Linked DNA regions of Homo sapiens: all the other regions are linked to region 3. The links are contacts of gene promoters, found by promoter capture Hi-C in blood cells and fetal thymus (Javierre and others, 2016). All regions are on one chromosome and are shown on one strand. The core of a region is centred on a gene start or on the middle of the fragment in contact, and the rest is flanking DNA. Distances in the headings are between cores, read along the strand shown.

Region 1 (2,700 bases), core at 33-2,532, 1.6 Mb after region 3:
ATATGTTGGCTTTGTATCCTGCTACTTTATTGAATTTATTATCTCTAACAATTTTTTGAGTGCGGGATCGGGGGATCTTTCGGAGATAAGATCAGATCATTTGCAAACAGAAATAGTTTTATTTTTCCTTTCCAATTTGGATGGCCTTTATTTCGTTTTCTTGCCTAATTGCTCTGGCTAGAGCTTCTTGTACCATGTTGAATAGAAGTGGTGAAAGCAGGCATCCTTGCCTTATTTCTGATCTTAGAGTAAATGCTTTTAGTCTTTCACCATTATGATGTTGGCTATGGGTTTTTTCATATATGGATTTTATTATATTGAGGTAGATTTCTTTCTAGTATGTTGAGTATTTTCAACATGAAAGGGTATTGAATTTTGTCAAGTCCTTTTTCTGAATCAACCACATTGAGATGATCATGTGGTTTTAGTCTTTCATTCTGTTAACATTATATATTATATCAATTTTTCTATGTTAAACCATCCTTGCATTTCGGGACTAAATCTCATTTGGTTGTGGTGTATAATTCTTTTAATATTCTGCTGAACTCAGATGGCTAGTATTTTGTTGACAGTTTTTACATCAGTGTTTATAAGGGATATTGGTCTATAGTTTTCTTTCTTTTTCTGGCTTTGCTATCACGGTAATACTGGCCTCATAGAATGAATTAAAAAGTGTTTTATCAGCCGGGTGCAGTGGCTCATGCCTGTAATCCCAGGACTTTGGAAGGCTGAGGTGGATGGATCACCTGAGGTCAGGAGTTCAAGACCAGCCTGGCCAACATGGTGAAACCCCATCTCTACTAAAAATACAAAAATCAGCTGGGCATGGTGGTGTGTATTGGTAGTCCCAGCTACTGAGGCAGGAGAATCACTCGAACCCAGGAGGCAGAAGCTGCAGTGAGCCAAGATTGCGCCACTGTACTCCAGCCTGGGCAACAGAGTAAGACTCAGTCTCAAAAAACAAACAAACAAACAAAACGTGTTTTATCTTCTTCAGTATTTTGAAAGAGTTTGAGAAAGATTGGTGTTAATTCTTTATTTTTATTTTTATTTTTTGAGACGGAGTTTCACTCTTGTTGTCCAGGCTGGAGTGCAATGGTGCAATCTCAGCTCATTGCAACCTCTGCCTCTCAGGTTCAAGTGATTCTCCTGCCTCAGCCTCCCAAGTAGCTGGGATTACAGGCATGTGCCACCATGCCCAGCTATTTTTTGTATTTTTTTTAGTAGAGACAGGGTTTCATCATGTTGGCCAGGCTGGTCTTAAACACCTGACCTCAGGTGATCCACCTGCCTCAGTTTCCCAAAGTGCTGGGATTATAGGTGTGAGCCACTGCGCCTGGCTTACTTCTTTAAATGTTTGGTGGAAGGTTGTGCATTTTTAAAAACAGTTTTAAAGAATATATTTAATCAGCTGAACTGAGGGAATTGTTACATTTAGGATAAAGAGAAGTTTGGAAAACTGTGGGGTTTCCAGATTCATTGTTTTATCTCCAAGTGACAATTCCCTTCTGCTCTCCCGAGTCTTTACCACAGGACTGAAGATTCAGTTTGGCCTCTGTGATGTGGCCTGGCCGACAGTCTGTTGCTCTCTCATCCTTTAGGAGTCCTGGATGATTAGTAAGCATTTTCTCACAGCAAATGATTCAGAATGAAATGTAGTTCCAGATACAAAAATTATTTCTGAAAATAACCTCACTTCTTTAAAACCATTTCTGTTATATGTTGATTTAAAAGCATTTATACTGATCTCCAGTCAACTTTCTCTTTCTCTTGGTGTTCCTTCTTCATCCCTCTCCCCACTCTCTTTCTCTCTCTTGCCTGCCCACCTGCCCGCCCCCCTCCCTTCCTCCCTCCCTCTCCTTCCCCCTCCTTCTTCCTTCCTTGCTTCCTTCCTTCCTCCCTCCCTCCCTCATGGAATACCCAGAACAATACTGTCTAATAGACATATAATATAAGCCACATGTGTAGCCATGCTAAAAAAAAAAAAATGAAGAGAATTAGGTGAAATTGATTTTAATAACACACTTTATTTAACCTAATATATCCAAAATATTATTTCAATATTTAATTAATATAAAAATTAATGAGCTATTTAACTGTATTTTTCATAGTAAGTCTGTGAAATCCACTGTTTTAAACTTGAGATACATCTCAGTTTGGACTGATCACATTTCAAGGACTCAAGAGCCACATGTGTCTAGTGACCACTGTATTAGACAGTGCAGACCTAGTGTATTTGGTACCAAGCACGTAAAGTCCAGAAAAGGGCAGCCCTCCACTTTGCTTCATGGACAGGACAGATCAATAAAGGATGAATGATGGCTGTGAGTACCTGGGGAGGAGCTGTGCATAGAGTATTAGGGAAGCCCAGAGGAGGGGGTCCAAAGGCAGACCTGTGAGCTGGGGCCTCCCTGCAACTTACTTGGCTTGTTCACTACCACTAGATCTCATTTCTTTGAACTAGTCCCCTGTGGGGAGGCAACTGAGCTGGAGTTTGGCATGGGCCCCAGTCCATCAGACATTAACTTTTTGCCTCATGTATTAAGAGAGCCACTGGCAAGTTCACATTTAATTACAGGCTCTGCTCTGGCCACAGGTTTGGGAGCTGGGATTTTGGAATCACAACCTCACTGCTTTCTGTTCTGGTCTGCCTTTCATTCCCACACACAGGATGGCTCATCTAGCTTCCTGGAGATTGCT
Region 2 (2,700 bases), core at 109-2,608, 1.6 Mb after region 3:
TTTATAGTTCTTCCAGCCACCTTGTATTAACCTAGTCTAGGATTATACCTGGGTTTCTGTTCCTAAATTTTGACTAGTTACTAAGGTTAATAATCTTGTCTTCCTCTAACGTGGCAGCTTAGACTTCAATTTATTCTTGAGAGTTGGAGTGCCTTCCATCTGAATTCTTCTTCTTTTTTTTTTTTTTTTAAGATGGGGTCTTGTTCTGTTGCCCAGGCTGGAGCACAGTGGTAAAATCATAGCTCACTGCAGGCTGGAACTCCTGGGCTCCAACAGTCCTCCTCCTTCAGCCTCCTAAGTAGCTGGGACTATAGGCGTGTACCACCATACCTGGCTAATTTTTATTTTTTGTTGAGATGAGGTCTCGCTTTGCTGCCCAAGGTGGTCTCAAACTCCTGGCCTCAAGCTACCCTCCCACCTTGGCCTCCCAAAGTGCTGGGATTATAGGCGTGAGTCACTGCCCTTGGTCTGAATGATTCTTATCAAGACTGGTGATGGTGGCATCTAAGAACAGCTGGGGGTGACTCTTTGTTCACTGTGTGTATTAATTTCCTCTGGCTGCTGTAGCAAATTACCACAAACTTGGCACCTTAAAACAACAGACATTTAGGTTTTGACAGGGCTGAGCTCCTGCCAGAGGCTCTGGGGGAGAATCTGTTCCTTCTCTCTTCCAGCTTCTGGAAACTGCTGACATCCCTTGGCTTGTGGCCTCATCACTCCAATATCTGCCCCCTCCACGGCCACATTGCCTTCCTGTCTTCCATCTGTAGTCAAATCTGCCTCTGCTTCCCTCTTAGAAGCATACATGTAATGACATTTAAGGCCCAACTAGATAATTCAAAATAATCCCCCCATCTCAAGATCTTTAATTTCATCACATCTGCAAAGTCTTTGCATAGAAGGTAACATTTACAGGTCCCAGAGATTAGGACCTGATATATTGGTGGCCATTATTCTGTGTACTACACTGTCCATCTAGGTTGGGCCTGCTACTTCTCCTGGAAGTCCCACTCTTGACCATTTCTGAGTCATGGTTCAGTGCACTATGCCTTCCTGCTTCTCTGCCTCTTTGTCTTCCTCACCTCTACCTACAGAACTGGCCTTAGCAATGCTGTCGGTTTCCCCAAGGTCTGTCTCAGGCCCAGGGGCCAGGGCTACCTCCTGTTCCTGCTGCTTCTCTTCCTGTACACTTGCCTCCTTCTCTTTTATTGAGTTGTAGAAAATACCAAGTCTCTTTTCAAAAATCTCGTCCTGTGATGCCTCCTTCCTCACAAAGACCTTGCAATCCAGGCCCTTCCGGGCTGTCTGCGTTGTGTGACACTTAACTCGGACATATGTAGACATGCCTTGAGATGTGGGCTGCCATTTATTTATCTAAAATGCCCCTTCCCCTTGCTCTATATTGGGTGAAATATTGTACATTTTGCAAGGTCTTGTTTAAGTGTCAAATTCTCTGAGACTTTCCTAAGCCCCTCCCCCTCCTCTTTTCCATACAGAATCAATTACATCTTCCCTCTGTTCTTCCTTAGCACTCTGTTTATACTTGACTCAAACCCTTCCCACATTGTGTTATACTTTATTTTGTCTCTGTCTCTCCTTGCTGGACTTTGAGGTTCATGAGAACCAGGAAAAGGATATTATTCATCTTTTTTAATTTTAACCTGACATGGAACTCACAATACATCCTTGATATAATAATAATATGTGTTTAATTAATTGATTAATTTGAATTTTAAACTTTTCATAATTCAGAATATCTTAGAATAGATGAACATTTAATACTTTTCTCCCAATTTCCTTATGGACCCAAGAGTAATTATTTTCCTTAGATGGCTATGTACAGTCAAGCATGGCTTTTGTTTCCAGTATAAATTAATTTAAAATACTGTAATTTATGCATTCTCTTCTTTACATTTTGTTCAGTGTGGGGGTTATTACCCTTACCCCTCTAGAGAGCCAATTTACTTATTTTATTTTATTTTTGAGACAGAGGCTTGCTCTGTCATCCAGGCTGGAGTGCAGTGGCTTGATCACAGCTCACTGCAGACTTGACCTCCTGCACTCAAGCAATCCTCCCACCTCAGCCTCCCGAGTAGCTGGCACCACAGGTGTGTGCCACCATGCTTGGCTAATTTTTAAAATTGTTATTGTTTGTAGAGATAGGGGTATCCTTGTGTTGCCCAGGCTGGTCTCAAACTGGGCTCAAGTGGTCCTCCCATCTCAGCTTCCCAAAGTGCTAGGATTACAGGCGTGAGCCACTCTACTTGGCCCAATTTACTTTAATATGAGATTTTTCTAAACCTTAAAGGCTACCAGTGTAATGTTGTCACTTGATTGTCTTCTTGTAGATCCAGACTTTTAAGCAGGAATTAGGAATGTTATCTGTGAAGATTGCTTCTTTTCACTTACTGGTGCTCTACTGAAACAATACTATTTTCCTCCCTTTTCCTGGGTGTTTTGTCTGAGTACATGTGAATGTCAGAGTTATTTTCCCTGCCTTGTCACTGGAATCTGCAGCCAGCCTCCCTGATTGTGAATGCATCCATGCTGTACAGCTGGCGTCTGTTTCCTATTTCTATAGCCGTGAGTCTCTCAGGGCTTTTGTAGAGAGTACGGGTGTTTTATTACATTGCATGTCTTATATGTATGAGAAACTTAAAGGGCTTTGAGGATTTTCTTTTTCGGTATCTAATCTTCTAA
Region 3 (2,700 bases), core at 128-2,627:
AGTAAGAGTTTTGGGAAATTAATAATAGTAATAAAAATCTTGTGAAAGGGCTCAAGGTGTTGCAATCCTCATCACCTATGAGCACCAATTCTGCAGCTGTTTTGCACGTAACTATAAATTATGATCTAGTCTCTACATACATAACTTCCCCCACATTCCTGCAGGGGTCTCTTTTCCTGCTCAATCTCAGGAGCAAGCTTTAATTTTAAGACCCATGAATACTTGAACAAATTCAGGAGTCAGTTTGACACATCATTTTATATTTTTCTGATGACAATTTCTAGTTTACTTTTTAAAAAAAGACACTATTTTAAAAATACTTTGGGATAGGTTTGAGTCGTTGTGTTTGCTTCCAGTCAGAGAACTTCCTACAAAACTGAAGATATAAAGTGCTGATGCCTGGGCGTGCCTGCGTTCGTTGGGGGCACGACGTCATCGTGGGAAGCGTGTACTTTTTCGGATTACTGCTTGGCGGATTAGAAACCCGTAGATCAGTTCTAGGTTAGCCCTGATTAACTGCCCTGGGTGTTTCTGGGCCAGAGGGAATGTCTGCTGGATTCAAACCAATATCCGTTGTAAGACAAAAGAGTTAATTTGTACTTTACCCCTATCCAGGCTAATAATGAAGGTACCGGGAATGATCTGGAATGTTAACTGGTGCCCGCAATCGCGTCTGCTGAACCTTCTGCCCCCACGATTCTGTCTGCCCACATGCTTCTGTCTATCAGCCCCGGCCTCGGGATCAGCTCTCGCCGCGTCATTGGTTGGATTTCAGGAAGGGAGAAGCCCACGATTTAAAGGGCTCCTTTTGCACCTGCCAGACATCGTCCGCATGGTCCAACTTGCCTTTGGCACGTATCTGGAAAAATCTCCTGCGCTGTTCGTTTATTGCACTGACTGGTCAAAGGAAAGAGTGTTCCCTTAGTCACCTTGACAATTTCCAAAAGCGAAACTTGGGCTCTAGACTAGATCTACACTGAGTCTGCGGGGCGCGGAGTCCCTGCCCAGGTCAGTAGCGCCGGCCCGGCGGGCGGGCGGGGACAGGGGCGGAGCCTAGGCCAGGCGTGGTCTTCCGTGGGAGAGAAGGAAATTCTTTGCCCCACCCCCTAAAAACTGCTCTTCTGCCAGCCAATCAAGGAGGCCTATGCAAATAGGGTCCCTGTCGCCCCGGTAACCATGATGCACGGCAGCCAATGGAAACCAGCAAGTCGCGGCCCTGCTCCATGATTGGGACTGAAGTAAGGAGGTAGCGGCCCAATGGGCTGTGGGAACGGTCCTCGGCGGGTTGAGGGGCGGGGATATGCAAATATGGTTTGAAAAGCCGGCGGGAAATCCGAGTTTCGCGGGAGGACCTTGGCGCGTAAACCGTATCCCTTCATTCATTGTCAGCAGCAGCTTCCTGGAGCCATTTTTCAGCTGCCGGCCGCAGCACCCGGGCTGCCGCCGCCGCCTCGCAATCCGTTGCATCGGCCGCCCCCGACGCCTCCATCCCCGCTTGGGGCCCGATATCCGTGCGGCCGGGACCCTCCTCTCTCCAGAGCCCCGATTATTTTTGGCCCCCGGGGCCTGTGCGGTGCGGAAAAATAAAAAGAAAAGAGAGAGAGGGGGCTCGGAAGCGCCGGGCGGGGAGGAGAGAAGGAGGAGAGACTTGGAAACTCCGACTGCAAATAATAAAGAAATTGAAAACAATACATTAATATACCATAACACTAAAAAGAGCAGGAGCGAGAGATGAGAAAGGGAATCCAGCCCGCTCTGGAGCAGTACCTGGTGACCGCCGGGGGTGGGGAGGGGGCGGCTGTCGTCGCCGCCGCCGCTGCAGCCTCCATGGACAAAAGGGCACTGCTAGCCAGCCCCGGCTTCGCCGCCGCCGCCGCCGCTGCCGCCGCCCCGGGCGCGTACATCCAGATCCTCACCACGAACACTTCCACCACCTCCTGTTCCTCCTCCCTCCAAAGCGGCGCCGTAGCCGCCGGCCCCCTCCTCCCCAGTGCCCCCGGCGCGGAGCAGACCGCCGGCAGCCTCCTCTACACCACGCCGCACGGACCCTCCAGCAGAGCCGGGCTGCTGCAGCAGCCACCAGCGCTGGGACGCGGCGGCAGCGGCGGCGGCGGCGGCCCTCCGGTAATACCCTCCCTCCCCACCGTCCCCAGCCCCGGCGGGAGGTGGGCTCGCACCGCGCGGGGTCGTGGGCGCGCTGCGGGCCGCTCGGGGAGAGCACTGGGCCGAGCATCGTGGGCCTCGGGGGCTGCCCCTCCAACGAGGGTTCATTGTTAGACCTGAGTGCTCTTCCCGGCGCCAGGAGGGTCGGGGGGCTCGGCCAGGCGCGCGGGGCGGCGGGGATTGCCTTGGCGCGAACCACATCAAACACTCCAAAACTTTTCGCGGCCCCCCCTTCTTTTCCTGCACTTTTCCCTACCCCCACTCTCCCTTCCCCTCCAACTCGAAGCTTCCTCTTTCTCGGGCGTAGGAAGGGGTCACGCCCCGGATGGAGAAGGGGGTGGGGGAGGGAGTAGTGAACTGGGGTGTGGGGGGCTCTGAGGGGTTGAAACCGGGGGACTGTTGGGGTGCTAGCCCCCAGTCGGCCTTGGAGGCTCGTTGGCGGCCGGGGGTCCCTGCGGCGTGCTCGGAGCGCAGGGGATCGGCGGGGCTGCGCTTGACACATTTTAGGATCTGTAACTCCCGGCAACAAAGGGGCTG
Region 4 (2,777 bases), core at 163-2,662, 1.4 Mb after region 3:
GAACGGGAAAAGACAGTGTTGTCTGGGTCCATGGAGCCACAAGAACACACCAGGATTGATCATTCCTCTTTCTCTTAATTGTCTTTTGCCTTGCCCTCCCCTGCTAGGATAGAAGAGGTAGGATAAGATGGATGGGGATGGAATTTATTAAATAAATTATTCAAAAATACTTGTTAAACCTATCTACTGTTTGCCATATGCTAAGACCCAAAGGAGGGAAGAGTGTCATCATGCCAAGTCATGGGATGGCAGTGATGGTATTGCTATGGTGCTGTGTATACAAGACCATGAGAGCAAGAGGAAGGAGCCCAGTGTGTGGCCTGGGAGGGTCAAGGGAAACTGGATTCAGGAAATGCCATTTTGGCTAAGAACTATAGAGTCAATACACATTTGCAAGGTTTTAAAGTGAAAATGGAGGCCAGGCATGGTGGCTCACGCTTGTAGTCCCAGCAATTTTTGAGGCCGAGGCGGGCGGATCACCTGAGGTCAGGAGTTCGAGACCAGCCTGGCCAACATAGTGAAACCCTGTCTCTACTAAAAATACAAAAATTAGCCGGACGTGGTGGCACGCATCTGTAATCCCAGCTACTCAGTAGGCTGAGGCAGGAGAATCACTTGGACCCAGGAGGTGGAGGTTGCAGTGAGCCGAGATTGCACCACTGCCTGGGCGACAGAGCGAGACTCTGTCTTAAAAAAACACACACACACAAAAAACTAAAATTGTTCATATGATTGGGCTGGATGCTAGATTGTTTGGGAGATGAAGTTGTACGCTCTGGGGGTGTTTTGGAAACTCATGCAATACTTTCTTTGGTCACAGTGATTGGAAGGCGCTTCTGGCATTGAATGAGCAAAGCCCAGGCAGCAGGTACGATGCAATGTACAAGATAGTTCTGCACATGAAGAATTGTCCTGTGTTTAACACGATTATTCTCAAGCGTCTCAACAGATATTTATGTAAAGTTAATTACAGAACCTGTCTATAAGAGTTTGAGCTAGAACCTAACTTTGTTTTACATATAGGTACAAAGTATTTGTTGCCAGGCTTAATGCACACTGAATTTTCCAGGAATAAAACTACTTTGTCAGTTGGGGAAAGATTGCGCATCGTTTTATGTGGACCTTTACTAAATACTGTTCACAATTTAGAGAAATTGTGTCAGCCATGGCCACACCACTTTGGAAATTTGAATGATCGATAAAACATACTGTGTGGATCTGTGTTTGGAGCTGTATTCACGGTGATTCCATGCACACAGCTACTTCATGGTGTCTTCTGTTGGCAGTTTTGTGCCAATATGTAAAAACAAAAGTTATGTTATTATCAATTCCATTCCCCCCTTTTTCTTCTATACTTAAGATATTATACTGATTTACTTTTAAAAATTATTACGCAGGTAGGTTATATACTACTTACGATTTTTATTTCAAGACAGAAAAGTGTGTTATAAAAAGGGACTTGGGATTGATAGGCTTGAAAACCCCTGCCTAGATCTCGAAGTACCTTGTATACTATTAAAAGGAGCTATGTATTTTATAGTCCTTGAAGTATACCCTTCAAACTATCTACATAAGAGTCACCTGGTGAGCATTTTCAAACTTCAGGGTCCTGGGCCCATTTTAGAACTACTGAATTCCTTGTGGGAGACTTGAATCTATCTTATGTCACCCTCTCCCCAACCTACACGTGACTTTTTTTTTTTTCTTTCTTTCTTTTTTTTTTTTTTGAGACGGAGTCTTGCTCTGTTGCCCAGGCTGGAGTGCAGTTGCATGATCTCGGCTCACTACAGCCTCTGCCTCCCGGGTCAAGCAATTCTCCTGCCTCAGCCTCCCAAGTAGCTGGGATTACAGGTGCCCGCCACTACGCCCAGCTAATTTTTTGTATTTTTAGTAGAGAGGGGGTTTCACCATGTTGGCTAGGCAGGTCTCAAACTCATGACCTCAGGTGATCTGCCCACCTCGGCCTCCCAAAGTGCTGGGATTACAGGTGTGAGCCACCATGCCTGGCCCCCAACCTACACAGGACTCTTATCCCTCTAACATTTGAGAATGCACTGCTATAGAATTTCTCTAAATTTAAGAATTTAGAGAAATGGAGGGATATAAACAGGTTTTAAGGTTAAAAATAATACTCTGGGTTGGGCATGGTGACTTACACTTGTAATCCCAGCACTTTGGGAGGCCAGGACAGGTAGATCACCTGAGGTCAGGAGTTCAAGACCAGCCTGGCCAACATAGTGAAACCCCGTCTCTACTAAAAATACAAAGATTAGCCAGGTGTGGTGGTGCGCATCCATAATCCCAGCTACTTGGGAGGCTGAGGCAGGAGAATTGCTGGAACCTGGGAGGCAGAAATTGCAGTGAGCCCAGATCGATCCACTGCACTCCAGCCTGGGTGACATAGTGAGACCCTGTATCAAAAAAACAAACAAACCCCAAAAAACAAAACTCTAATAGGACTTCAATGGTAGATGGAAGGAGCTTCAGACTCACAGTTGAGAACCGGTGAAGTTTCTATTGTAATGTTCTAGTTGAAAAATTTTGATGAAATACAGCATGGTATGTGGTAGACATGGGTGAGAGAAGTTATTATGAAGTAAAATGATACAATGTAGTGATAGCATTGGCAGAATAAAAGAGAATAAAGCTAGATTAAAGATAACAAAGGATGGTTTTTGCTAGGTAAATGGTGTTATCATTTATCAAGTTGGGGATTTCATTGGGGTGGGTGGCTAGTCTGTGGTTTCTGGTTTGGGCATGCTGACATTTAGTTTCCT
Region 5 (2,700 bases), core at 164-2,663, 2.0 Mb after region 3:
AAGAGGAAAAAGTATTTACTTATATTTGACTTGCAGTTATATCCGAAGGGAAAATACAATAAAAAGTTGATTAATAACAACAAAACCTCCCTATATCTGGTGATAAAACATTGTTTGCATGCTTTCACATTTTAAACAAAATTCCAGCTATGCTGTAGAATGAGAGGTGAGCCAGAATCCCAGTGCCCATGCATTGGTTCTGTTTTGGAGACTTGGTTTTACTCTGAACTGGGCTTCTGACTTACTTGGCTACTGGAGGGCAAATCATAACCAATATATCTCAGTGCTGTCATCCAAAAATGGAGGTGGACTTGGGAAGATGGACTAATTAAAGGTTGCAAAGCACTTTTGAGTCTATAAAGCCATATGTAATTGCAACCATTAAACCTAGTAATATAATGAAGTGTTGAAAGTTGTGTCTTCGTCATTTTGTTTTCTAAATTCAGTGAGAGACTCCTTCAAAGCCCATTCTGTTTACTTTCCCAAGGAAATTGTCTCAGTCCATTTTCTGTTGCTGTAACAGAACACCTAAGACTAGGTAATTTATAAAGTAAAGCGATTGATTGGCTCTAGAGGTTGGTAAGTCCAAGAATGAGGGGTTGCATCTGGTAAGGGCCTTCTTGCTGTGTCATAAAATGGCAGAAAGCATGACATGGTGAGAGAGAGCAAGAGTAGGCCAAATTCAGCTTTTATAGCAAGCTTCTGATAAGAATCCATTCATCCAGAGTCCTCATGACATAATCACCTCTTAAAGGTCCTACCTCTCAACACTGTTGCACTGGGGATTAACTTTCCAACACATTAACTGTGGAAAACACATTCAAACCATAACAGAAATTAATGAATGAAAAAACTGGTGATTTGGGCCAATGCGCTCTTGAACAGTTATGTATTTTGAGATATACCAAGCTTTTTTCTGCATTTCCTAATATTATTTTTATGTTCATTATGTTACTATTAAACATTTTTTCATTACGTTATTATTTTCTTATGTATTAATAGTAGTTAATAATACATTTACCAAGAATTAAATTTGTTTAAAATTTCGCAGTTGGGGCAGAGTTTACCAAATGTGGAGTGAGCCTATCTGTTGTGAAATAGAACTCACTAACCTCTTAACACAGGAAAATCAGTGATTTCATCAGATTAGAATTACATAGAGAAGCTATTCTCTGGGTGCAAAGATTGAAATTGCTTCTTGTGAAAGACACAGTTTCACAATTTCTTGTGAAATTGTTTCTTGTATCTAGTTTAAAACAGACACAAGAGAAACTTCATATGTAGTGCTGACACGTAAAGAGTTGGAGAATGAGTTGTCCCTTTGCGCCTCAACTTCTCCCTCAATGTCATGGTGGGCAAAATTATTTTGCCTTAGGCTTTAGCTGTAAAATGGGTTGCTAGCACTTGACCACAAATGGAATAATTACAATGAGGTTTGGAAGCCTACAGCATTTGTATTGAGGACATTTCCCCCTTGTGCATCTGTTAACTGTTATTACAGATTTGAGATACCATTAATCAGTAGCATCTTTAACAAATGTAGAGTAGATTTTTGCATACTGAGGTTCAGCCAGGCACCCCCATTAGCTGGCATACATTGGACCTCACTTGCAAAAACATGTTTCTGCTGTTATTCTTACAGAAGGCTGTATGTTCACACACATGCACAATTATGAGACTGAACACTCCCTTCTTCTTTGGATTGCTCTTTGATCTTTTGTAATTTTGCTGCTTGTGTCCATATGGAAATGTTAGCAACCAGCAGGCAATTCCTTTCTATTATGATTCCTCCTGATTCCTCCTCCATTGTCTTTCCCCTTGTTGTTTCTTGTTTGCATTGGGCTCCAGACTGATGCCAACATTTCAACGGGGTACACCTCATCAGTTTCAAAAGCTCAATTTGCTTTAAGTAGCCAGCAAAGCTTACCCTTATTTTTAAGTACCTGTTTATACCTGAGTTTCCCTGACATGCAATGACAACTTGGGCATCTCAAGAGAAACAGTTTTCTTGTGAGCCTGGAGACCTATGGGATTAGGCATGTAGGTCATAAATGCTGTCAGCATTAAGCTTGTTTTTAGTGCAGTGCTCTCTGGATTTCCATTTTGGTCTTTAATGACTAGGAGTACATATAATAACACACAGGCATGACCTCATCCAAAGACAATTTATTTAAAAATTGTCTTGGAATTAAAAATTCCAAACCCTAAAAAAGCTTAATTTGTGGGTGGTAGTTTATAACCATTTCTAAAATTTCTTCCTGTCTGTAGTACCCAGTAACTTTAGTCCTGGAAATCTCTCTTTTATTATAATGGAAAATACCAAAGATATGAGAGCACAGAAATATGTGCTTACTAAGGGAGCTTTCTTTCTCTTAGAACCTTCTGAAGCTCCTCCCTGGGAGAGATTAAATAATGTCCGCTCTTTCCCACTTCCCAATTCTATCTTCACACATCAAACAAATGAAAATCCTTCCAAAACTCATCTCCCTTCATGCCCACACTCAAATATGCTGTTTTATGTGGGTCGAACAAAGTCTTTTTCTGATTTTTCTCCCCATCTGTTCTTTGAATAAACATGCATCCTAAAGACAAGGAGGACTTAAAGGATCAAATTTGGTTCCTGTATTTGGAAATGCTATCAAAAGACCACACCGCACTTGGCCATTCGGTCAAATTAGATGCCGTTTGCTTCTAATAGCA

What was found. Contacts are between HindIII fragments. The CHiCAGO score rates a contact against its expected background, and 5 or more counts as called.
Region 1: a contact is called between a fragment that was not itself captured here and the fragment with the promoter of E2F3 in region 3, in 1 of 17 cell types (fetal thymus). The highest score is 8.3, in fetal thymus.
Region 2: a contact is called between a fragment that was not itself captured here and the fragment with the promoter of E2F3 in region 3, in 1 of 17 cell types (monocytes). The highest score is 7.4, in monocytes.
Region 4: a fragment that was not itself captured here is called in contact with the fragment with the promoter of E2F3 in region 3 in 1 of 17 cell types (fetal thymus); the score reaches 6.1 in fetal thymus.
Region 5: a fragment that was not itself captured here is called in contact with the fragment with the promoter of E2F3 in region 3 in 1 of 17 cell types (monocytes); the score reaches 11.9 in monocytes.

The regions. Positions count from the first base shown.
Region 1 is chr6:22,040,412-22,043,111 of GRCh38, forward strand. All of the region lies in intron 7 of CASC15 (cancer susceptibility 15), which reads left to right. Among named protein-coding and RNA genes, the nearest start is that of NBAT1, 110 kb to the right of the region's middle. The HindIII fragment of the contact is 4,011 bases long and covers 1-2,700 here.
Region 2 is chr6:22,021,493-22,024,192 of GRCh38, forward strand. The region is part of intron 7 of CASC15 (cancer susceptibility 15); the gene reads left to right. Among named protein-coding and RNA genes, the nearest start is that of NBAT1, 120 kb to the right of the region's middle. The HindIII fragment of the contact is 7,165 bases long and covers 1-2,700 here.
Region 3 is chr6:20,400,502-20,403,201 of GRCh38, forward strand. E2F3 (E2F transcription factor 3) reads left to right here and starts at 1,378. Exons shown (of 7, transcript NM_001949.5): 1 at 1,378-2,124. The coding sequence starts at 1,732. It overlaps LOC124901482, which reads right to left and starts at 2,271. Exons shown (of 3, transcript XM_047419652.1): 1 at 1,924-2,271; 2 at 1,768-1,879; 3 at 240-1,661. The coding sequence starts at 2,271. The coding sequence ends at 1,054. RefSeq lists silencers at 953-1,192, 2,043-2,512 and an enhancer at 1,291-1,815. The HindIII fragment of the contact is 2,252 bases long and covers 196-2,447 here.
Region 4 is chr6:21,832,285-21,835,061 of GRCh38, forward strand. The region is part of intron 4 of CASC15 (cancer susceptibility 15); the gene reads left to right. Among named protein-coding and RNA genes, the nearest start is that of CASC15, 170 kb to the left of the region's middle. The HindIII fragment of the contact is 3,336 bases long and covers 1-2,777 here.
Region 5 is chr6:22,365,256-22,367,955 of GRCh38, forward strand. It overlaps a transcript of LOC105374971 not described here. Among named protein-coding and RNA genes, the nearest start is that of PRL, 70 kb to the left of the region's middle. The HindIII fragment of the contact is 1,013 bases long and covers 908-1,920 here.